Linked DNA regions of Homo sapiens: regions 1, 3 and 4 are each linked to region 2. Evidence: promoter capture Hi-C in human tissues and cell types (Jung and others, 2019). All regions are on one chromosome and are shown on one strand. Each heading gives the region's core, a stretch centred on a gene start or on the middle of the fragment in contact. The rest is flanking DNA. Distances are from core to core; before and after follow the strand shown. Region 1 overlaps NALCN (sodium leak channel, non-selective). Region 2 holds the start of NALCN (sodium leak channel, non-selective). Region 3 overlaps ITGBL1 (integrin subunit beta like 1). Region 4 overlaps NALCN (sodium leak channel, non-selective).

The links. Contacts are between HindIII fragments. The study calls those that stand out against the background at their distance.
Region 1: a contact is called between a fragment that was not itself captured here and the fragment with the promoter of NALCN in region 2, in 5 of the 25 tissues and cell types used here (IMR-90 fibroblasts, aorta, dorsolateral prefrontal cortex and 2 more).
Region 3: a contact is called between a fragment that was not itself captured here and the fragment with the promoter of NALCN in region 2, in 2 of the 25 tissues and cell types used here (mesendoderm cells and thymus).
Region 4: a contact is called between a fragment that was not itself captured here and the fragment with the promoter of NALCN in region 2, in 7 of the 25 tissues and cell types used here (aorta, bladder, liver and 4 more).

What each region holds. Positions count from the first base shown.
Region 1 is chr13:101,306,244-101,309,508 of GRCh38, forward strand. The region is part of intron 7 of NALCN (sodium leak channel, non-selective); the gene reads right to left. Among named protein-coding and RNA genes, the nearest start is that of NALCN, 110 kb to the right of the region's middle. The HindIII fragment of the contact is 3,569 bases long and covers 2-3,265 here.
Region 2 is chr13:101,414,846-101,418,082 of GRCh38, forward strand. It overlaps NALCN (sodium leak channel, non-selective), which reads right to left and starts at 1,663. Exons shown (of 44, transcript NM_052867.4): 1 at 1,468-1,663. RefSeq lists enhancers at 464-1,014, 1,015-1,565. The HindIII fragment of the contact is 15,657 bases long and covers 1-3,237 here.
Region 3 is chr13:101,486,368-101,489,677 of GRCh38, forward strand. All of the region lies in intron 2 of ITGBL1 (integrin subunit beta like 1), which reads left to right. Among named protein-coding and RNA genes, the nearest start is that of ITGBL1, 35 kb to the left of the region's middle. The HindIII fragment of the contact is 4,379 bases long and covers 1-3,310 here.
Region 4 is chr13:101,338,810-101,342,224 of GRCh38, forward strand. All of the region lies in intron 7 of NALCN (sodium leak channel, non-selective), which reads right to left. Among named protein-coding and RNA genes, the nearest start is that of NALCN, 76 kb to the right of the region's middle. The HindIII fragment of the contact is 5,110 bases long and covers 1-3,415 here.

The DNA of each region.
Region 1 (3,265 bases), core at 536-3,035, 110 kb before region 2:
CCTTGAGAGGTGCTGCATTCCCCACATCCCTTCCCACAGTATCTATCACGCATTGCTAGCTCAATGGCTCCACTTGTCTCCAGACACTGGCTTCCATTTCCTCTGCAGATGCCCATTTCATGGCCTCATGTGACCCTTCTCCCACGTCGGTCCTCAGAAATGTGGGCCAATGGGTTGTTTTACCCTCTATGTCGAGAAATTCCTCTAGGTCCAGCCGTGCAGGCACTGACAAAGCTGCTTTGGCCTCCCCTCTGCCCTGCCCTTGTCCTGGTGATTCTTTTATACCAGTCCTGATGCTGGCTTTGACTTTAGAGCCATTGCTTGTGTAGCTTCAGTGTTCACATGGCATTTGCAGGAGGTGGGACACCATCGTCCTCCACCTCAGCATCCCAAACGTTAGAATATCATCACATTCATTAAAGTGGCTGAGACTTGTCATGAATTGCTGTGGGTCAGGCTTGGCTCATTTAATCCTCACTGACACCTTAGTACTACAAACACCATTTTACTGATACAGAAAGCGAGTTAAGCCATTTGCTAAGGTCGCATGGCAAGGAAGTGCTACTGTGGGTTGGATCCTGCCCTCCATGCAAGCTTAATCCCCTGTCCCTATCAGGCTTTCTTTGTGTGGAGGAAGTTCAGGTGCTATTATCAGGTGCATTTTCTTGGACTCTGAGAACCCAGGCTCCTTCCTGCGGTTTCTGAGGTAAGGGGTGGGGCTCTGAGATGCCTTCAGTCCCTGGAAGAGCCAAGCATAGGCTGGGTTTGAAGTTCATGTTGTTGCATGATTATTAACCACAACCAATAGACATGAGCATCTTGTTTGGGGCCATTATTGTTATGAACTTCTAAGTCAGGGTAAGGTCTCAGCTTCATTTTCCTGCTACTATTATGGAGATCCTTGGGTGCTTAGCCCCTCTTTGTCGCTTGGAGAAAAACCTCATGTTTTGGTATGATTAGCTTCTGAGCAGAGCGATGGTGGTCTGGGCCCCATTAGACAGCTCCAACCCATGGAAGCCACAGACAACTGTTGGCCACAAACCCAGAACAGTCATAACTTTGAACTTCCTAGGACTGTCACAGATTACACAGATGGAGAGAAACATCCTGTTACACACCAGGCCTTTCTCTATTTCAGTTCTCCACCAACACACTGGCAAGTCGTTCTTATCACTCTTACATTAAAAATGAAAAGACTGTGGCTTAATGAGACTAAACACATCCCTGAGTTCACCCAGAGTGGATGTCTGGAGCGGCATTCCAATGAATCCGTGCTCGCCTCCACAGACTATGTTCTTTCCACTCTGCCATGCATGTCTGAACTTTCTGAAACTTTTCTTGGCTTGGTTTTGAGGAATTTGAACAAATTCCTGTCTGGTATACTTTGTGAGAGCAAAAATTCTGCTTTTAAAGTTAAACAGACTAGCCCAAGAAAAGGGAAGGGAGGAGGGGTGAAATTTCCTTCCTGCATTTTGGATTAGCAATAGTTCTTCTGTGCTTTTGCTTGGGTTGAGGAGAACATTTCTCTGCCTTCTCTGCACTCTTAGCTCCTCAAATGATTGTCCAACAAGAGTAGGTAAAGATAGTTTTAAATATTCTTAGAGTTCTAACCAAAATCCGATATTTAAAATTTAAAAAGCAGCAAGATTTTAATTATTTTCACTAATCTGTTAGGTAAATCAGAACAATATAAAATTTAGCAGTGACTCTGGTTTAGCTTTTGGGTGTATTGGGTGTACCTTTTGGATATTCCATACGATTACTGAAATTCTAACTATGGCTTTGTTCTGTGTTAAAAATGTAATCATTTGAGAAATATAAAATAGAGAAATTAGTTTATAACAATAAATTTGTTTTGACTTCAATAAATGAAGTCAAATTTCATGGCTTCATTTTTGGAATATATTTATAATGGACTGGGCATTTTGTCCTTTGGTTATTTAAGCCTGTAGTAGATATTGCTGCTTGCGACTCTAGACTCATTCTTCTCTTCTTCCTGGGCGCATGGCTGCTCAGTGAGGGAATATGTTTCCTAGAATTTCCTGCAAGGAGTTGTGGCCTTGTGACAAAGTTCTTCCTGATGTATGCAACTCCCAAGCCATCTACAAAAACTCCTTCCCTGGACTCATTTTTCCCTTCCCTTCCACCAGCTAGAAATAGAGAAGCCAAGGACAGACTTGGAGAGTAAGTGTTGAGTTTGGCAGAGATGCCACAGAGGCCTGCACTTTGGGATGACTTCATGGGGCCCAGCTCATCCAAATACCCACATACCCAGGATGGCAGCTTCAGAAAGAAATCAACTTGTGTCTTGCTTGAGCCATTGTGTTGTGAGTTCTCTCTTTAAAGCTTACTTTACCCCAACTATTACATAGACTGAGACTCAAAGTAGCTATGGTCCGTGGGCCCAGTTCTCAGAAACGGCTGATGTTCACAAGGATGTCTGTTTGGAAAAAATATGCTAACTAAAAATTATTGACATACAGACATTTTAGGATTTCACACAAGTATATGAAGCAGATTGGACGGTTCAGGGAAACAAAACAAGGCAAAGTTCCAACTGATGTCTGATAAAACAGCTCTTTTTTTCTCACAAAAGCCACTCTACTAACCTTGCCCTAAGTTACTGGCATACCAAGACACAGAAATTCACACTTCATACCTACACTTAGCCCGAAGAATGAACTCCACCCATAGATCTAAAATAACAAGGTAAAATGTACAATTTAATGTCACATAAAGATTTGCTTAAGATTCTTTGAAATGTTCAAAGGAGATACTTTGAATATGAGATTGTTACTTTTTAAATATAGGGTTTTGGTTTCATGACTAATGGTATGATTCAACAACATGGAGCAATAAATTATTTCTCAAGAAAAAGCATTATACTTTAATTTGTCCCATTTCAAGGCTTTAAAAATCTTGCCAAAATAATGCTATTTTTACCAAATAAAATGTTAAAATACAGGCAAAGTCTTAAGAATAATACACACACACACACAATTCAACATTACTAAACTCAGACATACCAAAGAAATTCACATTCTTGAAAGGACTACCAAGCCTGCATCTTGTTATTCTAGGCAAACAAATATGAGAAATATTTAGTACTGGAATAGGAAGTATTTTGGCAAGTTTTTGCAAGTGCTTTGACCTCACAGTTCATGACCATAATGAATGGCCACCTCAGTGATATAAATCAGACACCACATAGTTTGATAAAATGTAGGGATACATTTCCTCATCTGTCAATCAAAGCATGCTCATT
Region 2 (3,237 bases), core at 413-2,912:
TATGAACACAGAAGAGGATCCAACTGAACCTTTTCACTTTTTAAGTTTTTCTCCAAAGCTGGATTTTGTCTTCACACTGTCTGGTTTTAGCAGTGGCTAGGTCAAAGTATACTACAGAAGAACGAAAAATCGACTCTAGAAAAGCACGCAGAATGACAGCCAACCAGTTAGGGAGTAAATGTTTCTCGTTGCAGATGTTTGGGAAGCCATGATTTTTATTTAGAACTGTGGAAACCTTATCTTTGAATTTAAAAAGCCAGTCCTGAGATGCATCTGCCTCAGGGGTAACTACCATAGTGAAACCGCTCCTCTCCCAGGCCATATCAAATCACAGTTGTAGTTATGAACATACAAATCACACACATATATATATATATATACATACATATATATTTCAAAATCGCCACCTGTTAATTTTTGATCCCCTATTAGAGGTGTTATCCACCAACTACTAACACGAAGGTCACTGGTCCTCAACCCACATTTCACCACCAGGGCAGTCGGGCCTAGCTGATGACCACACGAACACCAGATTAAGAGTAAAACCTTCTGAGGCCTGAAAGTGAGCGTGTATTCACACATCCTTAATAATACAGTGTCTGAAAAATTGTACCTGAAACTGAAAGATTTATTCTAAGGTATTTCAAGCACTAAGGGTCTGAGTTCAGCATTCTCACACCATCCTGAAAGAGGAACATTAAGTCAGCAAAATGACTGCGATCTGGGCCCCCAGAGGGATCCCAGCCAGGCCATCCTTGCTGGTGTCTTAAAGATTCAGTGACAAAATGGTGTTGCTTGGCAGGACACTGTTTTGCGTTCGGTGTAGCCACCCTAATGACGGCTGCTTAACAAGGCCAATGAATATCATAAGGGACATTTAGCAAGGAGCAATCCACAGGAGCATGGGGGTGGGGCAAGGCCGCGGAGCCCCCGCGGAGACCTGCTGGAGCCAGGCTGCCCACCCCCACCTCCCCACCCGCGCGTTGGCCCAGAGGTTTACCCAGGCAGCGGCCCTGGTGCCGAGGGGGCAGGTGCAGCGCTGTAGTGATGCCCAGTGGCCTCGTCCTCAGCCACCTGCCCCCCAACACCTGCTAGATGCCCAGGCGGGGCAGGCCCGAGGTGTCGCCGGCCCTGGGCTTCCCAAGCCAGCCCAGGGGCATCCCGCGGCAGGCGCCCCCGACACCCACGCGCAGGAATAGGGAGGGCGCATCGCGGCTCCCGCGCCCCGGCCAGGCCGGCAAGGACCCCACCGCCCCGCTCTCGGGTGGAGGCGCCCCTCCCCACCCCTCCCCCGCGCGGGGCCCCCGCCCGCAGCCCCTCTAGCAGCCCCTCTCGCAGCCCCAGCGCCCCTGAGCCGTCCTGGCCCGGACCGGCCAAGGAACTAACGAGCGCGCATCGCGGGCCTCGGGCGCAGGGCACGGAGCCGGCCGCGCCGCAGCCTCCCGGGCACCGGCGGCGGTGACCAACCTGTAACCCCAGCGCTCAGAGCTGTCATGGTGCCCGCGGGCGGCGGCGGCGGCGACAGTGGGCGACCGGCAGGATCAGTGCCAGGCGCGGCGCCCAGGGCGGGCGGGGACGCGGGCCCCTCACCTACGGCGGCTCAGCTCAGGCAGCGCGCTCGGCCCGGCTGGGGCCGCGGCTCACGCTCGCCGTGTCACTCACTGAGCGCCGCCGCCGCCGGGCAGGCTGGGGGAGGGGTGGGAGCCGGAGTTTTCGGGCCTTTAAAAAATTATTATTTTATTTAAATTTTTAAAGTTAGCTTTGCTACAGGGACTGCAGTGATGCCGAAGGGCGGGCACCGCAGAGGAGGCTGCGCCGCAGTTGGTGGGGAGCGCCAGGGTCGGTACTGGCAGTTCCTTCTTGCCGGCTGCCACCCGCAGTCAGTCTCACAGCAACAGCTAGGCTCTCATCTGCGAGCTCCTCTCGGGGGTCTTTCGTACTCAACAGCACGGCGGCGGTGTGCACGGGAGTCCGCCGGGCACACGCGGGGTACACTTAAGTGCACTGCCAGGAGGCCGGGAGCCCAGCGTGCGAGCGTGAGGTCAGACTGTGCACGGTACCGAGGACTAGTTCCATTCCTGAGTATGAAAGGGTGAAACCGTTCACCTCAAGTTTCACCCCGGAGTTATTAAATAATGAATGCATCAGTCACACTTATAGTTTTCTAAATAGGTTGACGTTCGCCTTTAAAATTAAAATATGTTGTCGTGTGGATGAGACAAAGTCTATTCAGAAATTGACAGTCCCCCACCCCATACCCTGTGAGTATACCTGGACAGCAGACTGCATCTGAGGCTTCCTAGGGCTCCCAGCAGAGCAGGTTTAGGGAAATCTGGCCTCCTAAGCACCATGCCCAGGGCGACATCCTCCCACTCATTCCCACTCTCTGAAAGGTTTACTTTGGGTCTGGAATCTTGCCATGTAGTCAGATACGAAAATCCCCAGGGAACTCCTGACCAGTGATTTAGACATCATGCACACAGGCATATAAATAAAGGGAAAGAAACAACTGAATGAAGCTTTCTCTACAAGAGAAATTCTAAACAAAGAGCATTTGTCTATCACAAAATGTTATGTGGCAAGGTATAGAAGTAAAACTACACAAACCTACATTTTAAAAATGTATTTTCTGGTTACAGATATTTAATTAATCTACTTTCTTAAAAAGTCCATTCACAATTTGTTCACATTCATAATCCATATTAGTACGTTTTATTGTTTACAGGGAAATGTTAAAATATTGGTATTTCATGAAATACAGAGTCATGCGAGATAATTTTTCAAATTTCTAAAGACTTCAGAAAAACTGTGTCAAAAGCCAGGTTTTAAACAAATGATGAAATCACTCCTCATAAGAAAAAATTGACAGTAATTTAAACAATGCTAAATCTACAACCAGTTTGCTTAGAAAAAGTATTTACCAACTTGTTTCATCATCTTTATTTGCGGCTTTCAATTGCTTGTTCTAAATACTAGTTTATTTCACAAACTGAAATATATAGCTATATATATATGGTAGCTGAATGATAGTGTGTTATTCCTTGACATTCGTTCGAATTATCTGTTAGTAAATTATATTAAGGAAATATTTAAACATTTATTTATAATGTTTTGAAGTGGTCAAGGCAGTGATTTTTTACTAATCTCAGTGCCACTCCTCACCCAACAGGCATTTCAGACCTTTCTCTGTCCTTGGTTGAACTACCTCTGTTAAGTCTCTATAATTCATGCTCATGA
Region 3 (3,310 bases), core at 317-2,816, 71 kb after region 2:
AAAGACTACCCATTGGGTACAGTGTACACTGCTCAGGTGATGAGTGCACCAAAATCTCAGAAATCACCACTAAAGAACTTCACCTGTTTCCCAAAACTATTGAAATAAAAATAAAAATTAGAAAAGATCAGAGGGAAAGAATATGGGGGAAATAAGACCCCCATCAAAAAATAAGTGATGAAAGATACTGGGGAAAAACACAGGAGAGCAGGTTACTGGGGAAATAAAGACTATTTGAGAAATGGGCAAAAATGATAAATAATGCAAATCCACAATGTAAGTTTCATATTTTAAAAGTCTAGACCTCTTGCAGCTTTGAAACTTCATGATGCTATTTAAATGTCATGTTTAGTATTGTAAATAATGGTAATTTTAATCATTAATGCTAATTGCTATTCTCTGTGGCTATATTACTATTCATTTATTCAGTCAATGCATGTTTGTTTAGCACTAGAAGGAACATAAGCACACATCCAGTAGTCTGTATTTTATTTGGTTTAATTTCACACACCCAAAAATGCCTACGTAGGTATTAAATGTCAGCTCTTATTTTTAATGCTTTCTAGATTGCATCAGCCAAATGGGAAGAATTATAAAAAAAATGTAAATAACTACTTAAATACATTCATAAGGTCAATAATAACAAAATTTTATAATACTTCTTCATAAACCTTGGATTTGTTTTATTGCTTCTAGGTTCTCATAGTGATTTTGATAGCCTATCTTATCATTTGTTACTATATCTTTGTTAGGTATAAATGTTCAGGCTTCACCTATTACCAGGCATATTAAATTTCACAAGAGAAATGTGTAGTTACAGCTCCAAGGCAGGTGTTATGATCCTGTCAAATTGCTCAGGCTAATTTTAAATCATATCAGGTCTGTTGCTGGGAGATGTTTGAGGAACACAGGAAATTATATGGAGCCTGTTGATAACAGCCTGTCCTTATCCTGTGACCTAAAATAATACCAAACTTGCCACATTACCAACCCTCTTGTTTAAATGTAAAACCCATATTGGAGGTTTACACCAATGTCATTAAAAAAAGAAAGTTAGGATTCAAAAATATGATTGTAATTTTTGAAATCCTGGTAGCGAAAATTTAGCTGAAATTGGCAATTATATTTGACAAAATATTTAATATAAATCAATGTGATGTTTAGTTCAATTACCTCAGGAATATATAGAGTTATCACTGATGGCCTAAGGCCATGCATTCCAAGCTTGGGTGATCATAAGCATTACCTGTGGTGTGTTTCTGCAATACAGTTTCCTAAGCCCCTTTTCCGAAGTGCATTCCGTAGATGTGCAGGTTAACCAGTGTCCTCGGTGAATCTCCTGCTCAGATATACTGGCAGCACACTGGCCTAAAGTAAGGAATTCTTATGCTTTTTAAGAAACTGGATGCAGAGAGCTCTTCTGCATCAACTGAAGTATGTTCAGTCTTAGCTTGTAGGTTTTATTTCCTTACAGTTCATTAAGGTCAGAAAGAAGGGTTAATCTTCCTAACTCAAATGATGCTCCGAAGACAGGAATTGTTAACTAGGTTTGTGTTCAGTGTGAAACTGGCACAGGGGGCCTGACTGCAAACAGCCATGCAGGGAGGTTGAGGCTGAGGAGGTGGTGATGGTAAGAATGCTGGGCTTCGGAGGAGGAGATCAAATGGGCCTCCCTCATGATGAGAAGGGAGAGAAGGGATGGAGGATGGCAGGGATTGGGACTTACAGTAAACAGATACTGGTTTTTCTTGAAGGATGTTTGGATTTCACAGCCCATGCTTTTCTAACCAAGGAGCCAGCCTTAGCATTGACATTTGAGGGAGTATACAATTCCAAATGAGGTTGAAGATAAAGGAGCAATTGCTTTTTACATTAAAGGCACAGCCTTTTCAGAGCAATCTGTTCATCCTCTGTTATCACTTTAAAGGGAGTCTAGTTTTTAGCTTGATGTATACATTTAACTGACTCTCTATAATGGCAGAGAAGACTGCATGGCACTTCCAAGTTCATTTCTTTACCTTTAAGTGGATTAAGGCATATGCCTGCTTAGCTTTCCCACGTTCACTGCTTTGAGGGGAGTAAAACTGGAGTGATTTCAGGAATTGACACTGGAAGAGTTTCCTGGTCACAGGCTTTGAACCCGGAAAGACCTAAGCTGACTGTCAACTTTAACTTGAGAGAGCTGTTAACCACCTCAGTTTCCTTGTCTAAGCGGAAGAACAGAACATGTTAATAGAAAGTGCAGTTTACTGAGCATGTACTGTGTGCTCAGGCATTGTACTAAGTACCCTATGTCTTATTCGTGAACCCCCCACTACAACCTTTGGAGATATGTGTTATGTTCTGACAACAGCAATAATTTTGCGTCTTCCTCATGGAATTTTTTGTTTATGTGTGAGTGATAATGAGATTAGACTCATTAAAGATTAAAGAAGATTAAAGCCATGCCAATATTAGGTTCCCAGTTCTCAAAAAAAAGGGAGTTATATTCCTTTTCTTTCATTTGTGACTGTTCCTTTTCATCTTTTGGTGTTTTCAGGAAGCCATTTTGCCTGCAGCCGCTGAAGTGGCCCAGCTGCAGATGTTAATGGCTGTTTACCAGTAGGAGCCAAAACACCACACTAAAGAAGCTAGGAGGTGTGGTTATTTTGCCTTTTCTGTAAGATAAATTTCTTAATGCTAATGCCTCCAAATGAAGACATTTGATTTATCTCTAAAGTATATTTTTAAGTATAGAAACTGTAATGAGTGGCTAGATTACTACTCTGTTTTAAAATGTGTTACAAGACAGCTTTCATCATGTCAATCTACGGATCCAACAATTAAAAGAAAGGTTACCGAAATTGTACACAGATAGAAGTTTACTTCATATAGCCCTGGCATTCCAGTCTCTTCTAAGAATGTGAAATAAAGGATTGATAGATGGATAAACACATGGTAGATGGAGGTCTGATTCAGGTGGTGTTAAAAATCAAACAAAAATCTTTCCAAAGTAGGGATCAAATTCTACTTCTTTTGAGATATAAACTGTTTATAGCTTTGAAATGACAGTTTTCACCTCAGCACACCCATTAAATTTTTATGGAACCCTTCCTCGTCTATTAATACATGGCATATAGGAGGGGCTCAATATAATTTAGTTCCCCTTAAATGCTTTGGTATGTGATTTGGAGAGAGCAGCTGACATAGTTGAATATATATCAGATATATGGTTAGAAAAATATCGCATAGCATCTGTAGCAGAAAAATTAGTTTTCTGAAAAGAGTGAATGTAAATAATGCCAGGGAAGTATGCTTTTGAATAACATTT
Region 4 (3,415 bases), core at 210-2,709, 76 kb before region 2:
AACACTATTTTGAGTTGTAAGACGGTTTGGTGGAAACAGCAAGTATGGTGGACATCTGCAAATCTGGAGAAGTGAGTTCAGCCTGCCTCTGCCCGGAGTTCTCTGTAATTCTAATCCCACTCACTCTGACTCTCAGATCCCCACCTGTGTGGGTAAAATGTATGACTGCATTATCTGTTCCAGCTCTAAACTTCTGTAATTTCATTTCCAGTGTTATTACAGAAAATCACAGTGTCGCCTCTTTTATGTCTCAGCTTTTATGTCTCATATGTTTATGAGCAAGTGGGAACAGCGGAAGTAGGAACTGAAAGTGGGGTAAGTATTCAGAAAAGGGAAGACACATTTTCTAAATAGGGTAAGTTGCTGTGATTTTGTGTCACTTCGACAGTGTGGCTTTTAGGATGTTGTCAATCCCCAAACCTTACCACTGTATGATTCCTACCCACCTTGCCACCCATACTGCAATCACGGAATCTCAATGTCTGCTAAATAAATTTTGCGATTTTGCAAGATGTCCTTTAGATTATGTCTACTACTCAGGAAGCTTGCAACATGGGGAGTGTGTGATATCTTGAGTGCACGGGCTAATGTCTTAGCAGGGATGAGTCAGTTGGGGGTCCTTAGGAAGGAGCCACAGGAAAGCTATCCAGAAATAAAGATGGAAAGGTGCATAAATGGAAGAAAGAGACAGAAATAACTAGTATCTCAGTTGTCACGTGGCTCAGGGAATTAGAGGAGGTCGGAAAATAAATCACTTAGTGCTGGAGCCCCTGCACATCACAGCATGGCTGTGCCTTCTGCTCAATGCCCCAGCTGGTGCTTTACTTAGGCTCTGTGGAAGGAGCACCTGTTGAAAGGCGCTGAAAGGGAGAGGCTCCAATCCAGGGGTCACAGATTCGAATGTATATGGATAAATAAATAAAATTAAACATATGCATGATGCTTCATCAAACTAGAAAATTCAATGACACGGGCTAAATGTTGATCAGATTCTAGAGAGATTGGTACAAGCACAGAAGTCAGGACATTTGTGAGAGGGGAGGGGAATAATTGATGAATAAAGACCAAACATCACCAAAAACTTGCCTTCTAGAATGCTAGTCATTGATTGGAATAAAATGAAATGGGAGATATGAGTTAACATAGGCAAGATGCAAGGTTAAGAACACCGTGCCCCGGCGGGTACAGTGGCTCACGCCTGTAATCCCAGCACTTTTGGAGGCCGAGGCGGGTGGATCACGAGGTCAGGAGATCGAGACCCTCCTGGCTAACACGGTGAAACTCCGTCTCTACTAAAAATACAAAAAAATTAGCCAGGCATGGTGATGGGCGCCTGTAGTCCCAGCTAACTGGGAGGCAGAGGCAGGAGAATTGCTTGAACCCAGGAGGCAAAGTTTGCAGTGAGCCAAAATTGTGCCACTGCACTCCAGCTTGGGCGACAGACCGAGACTCCATCTCAAACAAACAAACAAACAAAAAACACCGTGCCCCTGCCCCAATGCCTCTCCCTTGAATAAGATACTGGAAAACCTGCATAGTTAATGTCTGTAAACAAAGGGAATCATATCAGATGCAGTGTGTGAGTGTGAAAATATCTATGTCCTGCCCTCCCTTATTATTACACCATTTTCCCTCAAATAACACAGAGATACATTCATATTTTGCCCGTGCATCCCAATTTCTAGTTCATTCTGCGTTTGTTCTACGCTACACGTACTCTAAGTGTAGTTTCTCAGTTGCTCTTTACATTAACTGTATAAGGTAGGTCTATCACTTACCCCATTTCCTAGATGGGGAAATTGAGGCAAGAGAGTTAATTACTTTCCTAAGGCTGTCACACTAATATAAAGTGGAGTCATGATCTAAACCCCAGGGCCATTCTTTTGAACAACTGTGCTTCAAGCAAACTTTACCACAAAGGAGTCATGTGCCCCTAATAATTTTAAACATGCTACAGCAAATAGCATAACTCTATTCAGAGGTTAAAAAATATACTGTTTGTTACTTTTCTTTTGAGAACTATTATCAAGATTTAGAAAGAATTGATTCCAATATTATTACTCATATTGAAATGATTTTTTGGGACGTGGTCATAGATAATATTATTTGGATTTTTGAGTTATTTCTAAAGAAAGTAATTTCTGAGTTTATCATGCATTCTCATCTCATGACAAGTATGCACATATCTCTATTATACATTTCATATATTGTATAAATGTTACTTTTTTAACTGCTAAAATGTGAATGTTAAGAATATCAACATAATCACACTATCTCCCCCGGTTTTCATCTTATCTCTTCTAGATATTCATAATTTATAATATTTACATTGTATTTTGTAAATCCTACAGTTACATTAGCTTTGTTCTTAAAACAAATAGATACTAGAGACTAGCTCATGATAAGAAATTCTTGATTGACTGAATGTTTTCAAGAAGATTTCATGCAAAATATAGTCTCTATGTTCCTGCCTCTTCAAAAATATTCAGAAAGAGCTTGACCCATTCTTTCCCTAAAGAATTTGTAAGCATTGTGCCATTACATTCTAGAGTTCCATATTGACATGAAGTTTCAGGCCTCTCTGATGTACCTCCTTATAGCTAACTTGACCTTATTTTTTCTGGATGCCTAATGAATGTTTTCTTTAGCTTTGATTTCCAACAATTTTACTAAGATGTGTCTCAGTGTTGACTGTTCTATGTTCACTTACTGAGAAAAGCTGCATCCTTCGAATCTGTAATTCAGTGCTCTGTTTCCTACTAAGCTTTTATGAGTTATATATCATGATTTTTTTTCAGTTTTAAAAGTACCTCAAAGTACATTTTTATAGATGTGGTCCTCATTCTTTCAATTATGACTCATCTTTGAAATAAATTTTTGTTAGACCAGATGTCTGTCACTGTTTCACTTTGGGGAGGAACAGGGTAATGTTCTAGGATAGTGCAATGGACAGAATGCTGATGTTTCCCCCAAATTCATTTGTTGAATTTCTAACCCCCATGGGGGTGATGCTACCAGAAGGTAGGACCTTTGGGTGTGATTAGATCATGAAGGTGGAGCCCACATTAATGGTATTAGTAACCTTATGAAGGAGGTTCAAGAGAGAACCCTTACTGCTTCTACTACGTGAGGACACAGTGAAAAGGTGCCATTCTATGAACCAGGAAGTGAGCCTTCACCAGGCATGAAATCTGCTGCTGTCTTGCTCTTGGACTTCCCAGACTCTAGAACTGTGAGAAATAAATTTCTCTTGGTTATGAGACACTGATTCTGTGACATTTTGTTACAACAACCAAAATGGATCAAGATGGAATTGAAGGTTTTTATAATACAGGTGTGTGTGTGTCTATGTGTGTATTTCTTTAGTCCAATGGTTCATAACTCTGCATGCACATAAATTAATCACCTGGAGAGC